Regions from separate parts of the Homo sapiens genome. Here region 2 is linked to region 1. The links are contacts of gene promoters, found by promoter capture Hi-C in blood cells and fetal thymus (Javierre and others, 2016). All regions are on one chromosome and are shown on one strand. The core of a region is centred on a gene start or on the middle of the fragment in contact, and the rest is flanking DNA. Distances in the headings are between cores, read along the strand shown. Region 1 holds the start of ZHX3 (zinc fingers and homeoboxes 3). Region 2 overlaps ZHX3 (zinc fingers and homeoboxes 3).

What was found. The method cuts DNA at HindIII sites, captures the fragments that hold promoters and counts their contacts. A CHiCAGO score of 5 or more calls a contact.
Region 2: a contact is called between a fragment that was not itself captured here and the fragment with the promoter of ZHX3 in region 1, in 9 of 17 cell types (activated CD4 T cells, erythroblasts, endothelial precursors and 6 more). The highest score is 8.2, in activated CD4 T cells.

The regions. Positions count from the first base shown.
Region 1 is chr20:41,316,134-41,319,096 of GRCh38, reverse strand. ZHX3 (zinc fingers and homeoboxes 3) reads left to right here and starts at 1,366. Exons shown (of 4, transcript NM_001384317.1): 1 at 1,366-1,588. RefSeq lists an enhancer at 937-986 and silencers at 1,097-1,546, 1,557-1,846. The HindIII fragment of the contact is 7,702 bases long and covers 1-2,963 here.
Region 2 is chr20:41,271,685-41,274,647 of GRCh38, reverse strand. All of the region lies in intron 1 of ZHX3 (zinc fingers and homeoboxes 3), which reads left to right. Among named protein-coding and RNA genes, the nearest start is that of ZHX3, 45 kb to the left of the region's middle. The HindIII fragment of the contact is 2,148 bases long and covers 370-2,517 here.

The sequences.
Region 1 (2,963 bases), core at 117-2,616:
TAGGTTTCAACAGGATCCCTCTGGCTTCTGTGTTGAGAGAAGGCACCATGAGAGCACAGTGGAATCGTGGAGAACAGGCAGGAGGCTACTACAATATTCCAGGAAAGAGGAAAAGGGGTATTTTAAAGGTAGAGCTGACAGGCTTTTCTAATGGGTTGCATGTGGGATATGATAGGGAGAGTGGAGTCCAGGATGACTCCAATGGTTTGTCTGGAGTCATCAGAAGAATGGAGTTGACATGAACTGAGGTAGGGAAGGTTGTGAAAGGAGCAAGCTAAGGTGCCACGTATGGGTGTTTGACTATCGACTTGTTTACTTGGACACATCGCTCACACTTGTGTATATGCTCCCTGGTTTTCAGGATCTGAAGGTTCTAAAGTTACTTGAAGTTAAAGGCAGCCTTACTTATTGAACACCAAGCACTGTGCAGAAATCTTTATATGTGGTGTCATTTAACCCTTTTAATATTTCTACTGATTTACTCATGTTTCATTGCCCTTTTACAGTTGAGAGATTAACACGTCCAAAGTCACTCAGACAATTATTAACCTGCTAGATTAATGCAGATCTGGGATTCCCATCCAGGTGTGTCAAGACCGTAGAGCTCCTGCTGTTTACTAATCACTGGATTCTAAAGGTGGGAGCCACTTTCTGAGCATATTTGCTGCAGACTTGGTTCCATAACTAAAAAGGTGCCTGGATCATGTGACGAGAATTCAGGAAAGAACCCAACCCCATCCCAGGCATTACAGGTTATACAACAGCTATGAAGAAAGGACGGTATTAGTGGACTCGAGGAGGCTGACTGATGTTTGAAAGTTCAAGTACTTGAAGACTCAATGTTAAAACAGTGATCAAGAGTTAGTTTTTTTGTTATTATTCTTAAGAAAACAGAAAATATTAAAAATTGCAGTGAACCCTTGGTTGGATAAAAGACCACTCCTAGTCGACGCTTGTTGGGAAACACTGGAATTGGAGGAGTGGGGGCAGACAGGAGCGAGAGCCCCTGCCAGCCTACACACACATCCTTTTGAAAGTGTAACCTGGTGTGACCTTCTTTAAGTGGTCCTCTGGAAAGAGCAGGATATGGAGTACAAAAGCCAGGAACCTCTGGGACCGCAGCATCCGCCCCCAGCGCCTCCTTCCCCGTCTTCTTCAGCCTCCACACGGTGGGGCGGGGAGGAGGGGGGAGGAGGAGTGCTGGCGCATGCGCCGGGGGCAAGGTCCGCTCCCCGCGACGTCAGGGGGCTCGCACCCGCTCGAAAGCCCCGCCCCGCGGCCGCCAGAGGCGACCTGGGCGGACTGGGGGGCCTGGGCCACGCCCCCAGCCGAGTCGAGCAAGGCCGAGGGGAGCCGTGCAAGGCCGAGCAGAGCCGAGCGCCTCCGAGAGCGGCCGAGCCCAGCCGAGCGGCCCGGAGTCGGTTGGTGCAGCTGCGTCCCCGCCGCTCAGCAGTCCGCGGCTCCGGCGTCGCCGCCGCCGCCGCCTCTGCGGGGCCTGCGCCGGCCGCCCGCCCGGCCGCGGGGAGGGAGGCCCGCAGCGCGGGAAGAGCGGCCCGGTCGCGGGCGCCGCCACCGCCGCCGCTGCCAGGTGAGCGCCCGCCACGGCCAGCCGGCCCCGCGTGCCCCCGCGGCTGTCAGTCCCCGGTGTCTGTATCTCTCTCTGCCTGTCAGACCCTGTGTCTGCGCGAGCTCCTTCCCGCCACGCCTGGCCCGCGGCCGGCCCGCAGTCTCAGTCAGCCCCCTCCCGCCGGCTGCCCCTGGTCTTTCTGTCAGCCGCCAGCACCCCCATGCTGAGAGGCTCCGCCCCTTCCCCCCGGAGCCCCGCCCTCCGCCATCTGTCATCACCCCCCGGGCTCCAGGAGCGGGCGTCCAGGGGTCCTAGGGGTCAGGGTAGCCCCGCGTGCCACCATCGTAGAAGGCGCAAAAGGGGGTGGTAGAGGGGAAGCGGGGGCGTTCGCGCAGGCCCGCCTGACCGTGTGAGAGTGCATGCCCGAGTGTGCGTTCCGCGTGTGCACCCGAGAGCCGCCTGCGTCCACGCCCGAGGGCCCTTGCACTCTGCTGGGATGTGGCAGCCCATGCCCCCGGTGTAAAGAGCGTCAGCTCGACCAGTGAAGGCGGCAGAGCCAGGACTCGAACCACTCGGGGTACAGTAGCACCCTGAATCTTGGGACCCTTGTCTGCCCACGCGAAAACACTACACGTGGGCCCCAGGTCCTCGGATTCCCTGAGTGGCGTGTGAGTGGAGTTTGGAGCTTGTTAAGCCTTCCCAGTTTGGGATTTTCATTCAGGGAAGCCTGTTGGAAGTGATTGAGGAGTGGATGGGATGTAGGACTTAGGTGGGGAGTGTTTGAGGGCTTGAGTCATTTTGAGTTGCATGGTTTACATTTCTGAGCAGTGATTGCCCTGGGCTTGTGCCCTGCGAGAAACTTATGTGACTTGGGGTGGGGGAGTGAGGTAGGAAGGAATGCTCCTTTCTGTTTTTATCTATGTGAACACATAGTATATATTTATCCAGATATCCTAAATGTTTATTCATGAGGCGTCCACACGTCCTTAATTTAAAAAAGGATTACAGTAGTTTCCATTTATACACGTTCTTGTGTGTTGTTATCTCAATGCTCTTTATTTGTGGTAACTTAGTATTGCAATATTTCAAAACTAAGAGAAAATGCATCCTAAAACAATTGGTATTTTGCCGGATAATTCTGAACCACGGAGAAGGAGCCAAAAGCGCACTTCATTAGCTGGAACAACTTATTCGAGCTTAATTTGTTTCTAAGAGACATACAGTGGAAAAATCCAGAAGCGCAAAATAGTATCAAAGACACATAGAAAATGAATGAAAAGGGCCCTTCTGTTGCTGCCTTGGAAAGATGGTATCAAAGTTGCTGTAGAGGACAGAGCCACTATGTAATGATCAACATATTAACCAAGTTGGTTTTGTGACCTTGATACATTGAGCG
Region 2 (2,963 bases), core at 194-2,693, 45 kb after region 1:
TTAGAAAACTCCACAGTGATTTTTCCTGGGTTATTGTGTTATCTTCAGTTCTAATTTTGATGTGTGAGCAAAAAACAGATTGTATCCAGCTCAAGTTACCTTTATAATATCAAGTGATTGTTCTCTCACAGACTTTAGCCAAAAATTTTTAAAGACTTGTAAAACCCTTCCTCTCCAACCGACACCCTGTCCAACTACAGTTGATACTTTAAGCTCTGACTCTCAAGCTTCTGTGAGCAAAATCTTTGGCGAAGTAGCTAATGTGACATAATCAATTTGGGGGGATTTGAACTACATGAAAAAGAGTTCCTGATACTGTTCTGCGAAGTCTGTTAAACAACTTAACTCTTATCAGTGAACAAATAAGCTTCGTGCATCTCTGTTCCTCTACTGGGAACTGAAGATAATGAAACTTAATTATAAATCAGGAAAATGAAAATCCTTAAGTTCTGACCTTTTCCATAGCCCAAAGCAAACAAAACAGACGTTACATAATTTACCTTCATTCTCTGGAGTATGAATTTTGGATTACCAATGGCAAGTATAAACTTCATATTTGTGACATACTCCAGGATATTAGTAAATTACCATAGCGATACAGACAGCTAAAGAAGTTAGTGTATCACCTTATCAAGGACATTTTAAAATAACCTTAAAATTACATCATAGAATGGAAAGACATCCATGGATTAGAATACTTAAAGATGGCAATACTACTCAAAGTGATGTAAAGATTCAGTGCAATCTTGACCAAAATTCCAGTACCTATTTTTGCAGAAATAGGAAAGCTGATCCTAAAATTCATATAGAATTGCAAGGGACCCTGAATAGTCAAAACAATCTTGAAAAAGAAAAACAAAGTTGGAGTATTCATGCTTCCCAATTTCAAAAGATACTACAAAGCTACAATAATCAAAATAGGTATAAGCATAAGAATAGACATATAGATCAGTGGAATAAAACTGAGAGTCCAGAAATAAACCTGTACATCTGTGACCTTTGAGAACAGTGCCAAGATGATTCACTGGGGAAAGGACAATCTCTTTAACAAATGGTGCAGGTACAACTGGTTATCTACATGCAAAAGAATGAAGTTGGACCCCACACATATTAAAATTAACTCAAAATGGACCAAATAACTAATTATAAGAGTTAAGACTATAAACTCTTAGAAGAAAACATAAGGGTAAATCTTCATGACCTTGGATTTGGTAATGGATTCTTAGAAACACACCAAAAGCACAAGCAACGAAAGAAAAAATAGACAAATTGGATGGCATCAAATGTTAAAATTTTGCAGCAAAGGATGCTATCAAGTAAGTGGAAAGGCAACCTGCAGAATGGGAGGAGATATCTGCAAATCTGTTAAAAAACAAACAAAACAAAACGAAAAACTCTTAACAACTGAACAACAGAAAAGATAACCCAATTAAAATATGGGCAAGGGACTTGAATAGACATTTTGTAAAGATATGCAAATGGCCAAGAAACATATGAAAAGATTTCCTGGGTCATTGGTCATTAAGGAAATGCAAATCAAAGCCACAATGATATACCATTTCACACCTACTAAGATGTCTATACTTTAAAAACAAAACAAAAACAAAATTACAAGCATTGATGAGAATGTGGAGAAATTAGAACCTTGTACTTTGCTGGTGGGAATGTAAAATGTTGAAGCCACTGTGGGAAACAGTGTAGTAGTTCCTCAAAAAGTTCCGTATAGAATTACCATATGACCCAGCAATTCCACTCCTGTTTATATGTCCAGTAATTGAAAACAAGTATCAGACAAATACTTGTACACTCATGTTCATGGCAACACTATTCACAATAGCCAAAAGATGGAAACAACCCAAATGTCTATCAATGAATGAATGGATGAGCAAGATGTGCATCTATATACAGTGGAATATTTTTCAGCCATAAATTGGAATGAAGTACTGATGCATGCTGCAATGTAGATGAACTTTGAAACATTATGCAGAGTGAAAGAAAGCCAACCGAAAAGGTCACATATTGTTTGATTGCATTTTTAGGGAATATCCACAAGAGGTAATTTTATGGAGACATAAAGCATATTAGTGGTTGTCAGGAGTTGGAGGAGGAGGAGGAGGAGGAATAGAAGTGACTGCTTAATGAGTACAAGGTTCATTTTGGGGTGATGAAAATATTTCATCAGTAATGTAAGGTAATGGTAAATGTGATGGTTGCATGATACTGTGAATGTGCTAAATGCCACTGAATTGTACATTTAAAAATGGTTAATGTTATATGAATTTTCAATTTTTAAAATTACATCATATAATTTCTGTGATCTCACAGATAACTGTGGCTTTGCTGTCATAGTTACCTTGTGACTGTTGGAACCCATGTGCTTTGTACATTGGGAAGTTCTTTCCAGCTCTGGACAGGAAAACATGAAAACAGATGATCCCAAGGAGGTTTCTCCCTAAACTAACAATTAAAGAATATAGTTTTACTTTTTCATTTTTATTTGTTGAAACTGGTAAAGCTTCTACCTTGAGTGGGTCTGGGTTGTTTTAAAATTTATCAGACCACATTGGTCTGATATTGTTTCCTTCATTTAATTTGAAAAAGCTTGTTTAAAATAACTATTTGGAGATGGAATAATTTTTTGGTTTTATGAAAATTTAAAGGAATTGTAAAAGAATCTAAGACATACTTATGGAATTGCAGTCAAGTTTTTCTGGTGATTTTGTAAGCTACACTCCTAGAGATTTTTGTAATACTTTCTAAAATCATTTCAATTTTTTTTTTATTGTCAGTGACCTTGGTGTCAGGAATAAGAAAATTGTATTCAGATCAGTCAAGCAGAGCCTGTGCAAAAACGAAAAACATTAATTTTTTATTTGTATCTCATCTGTTTTGTTTTTCGAAGGAGGAGCTTGAGGCTATATTCTGGCAAATGATCTGAGAAGAGCGTCTTACTCAGAAAGCTA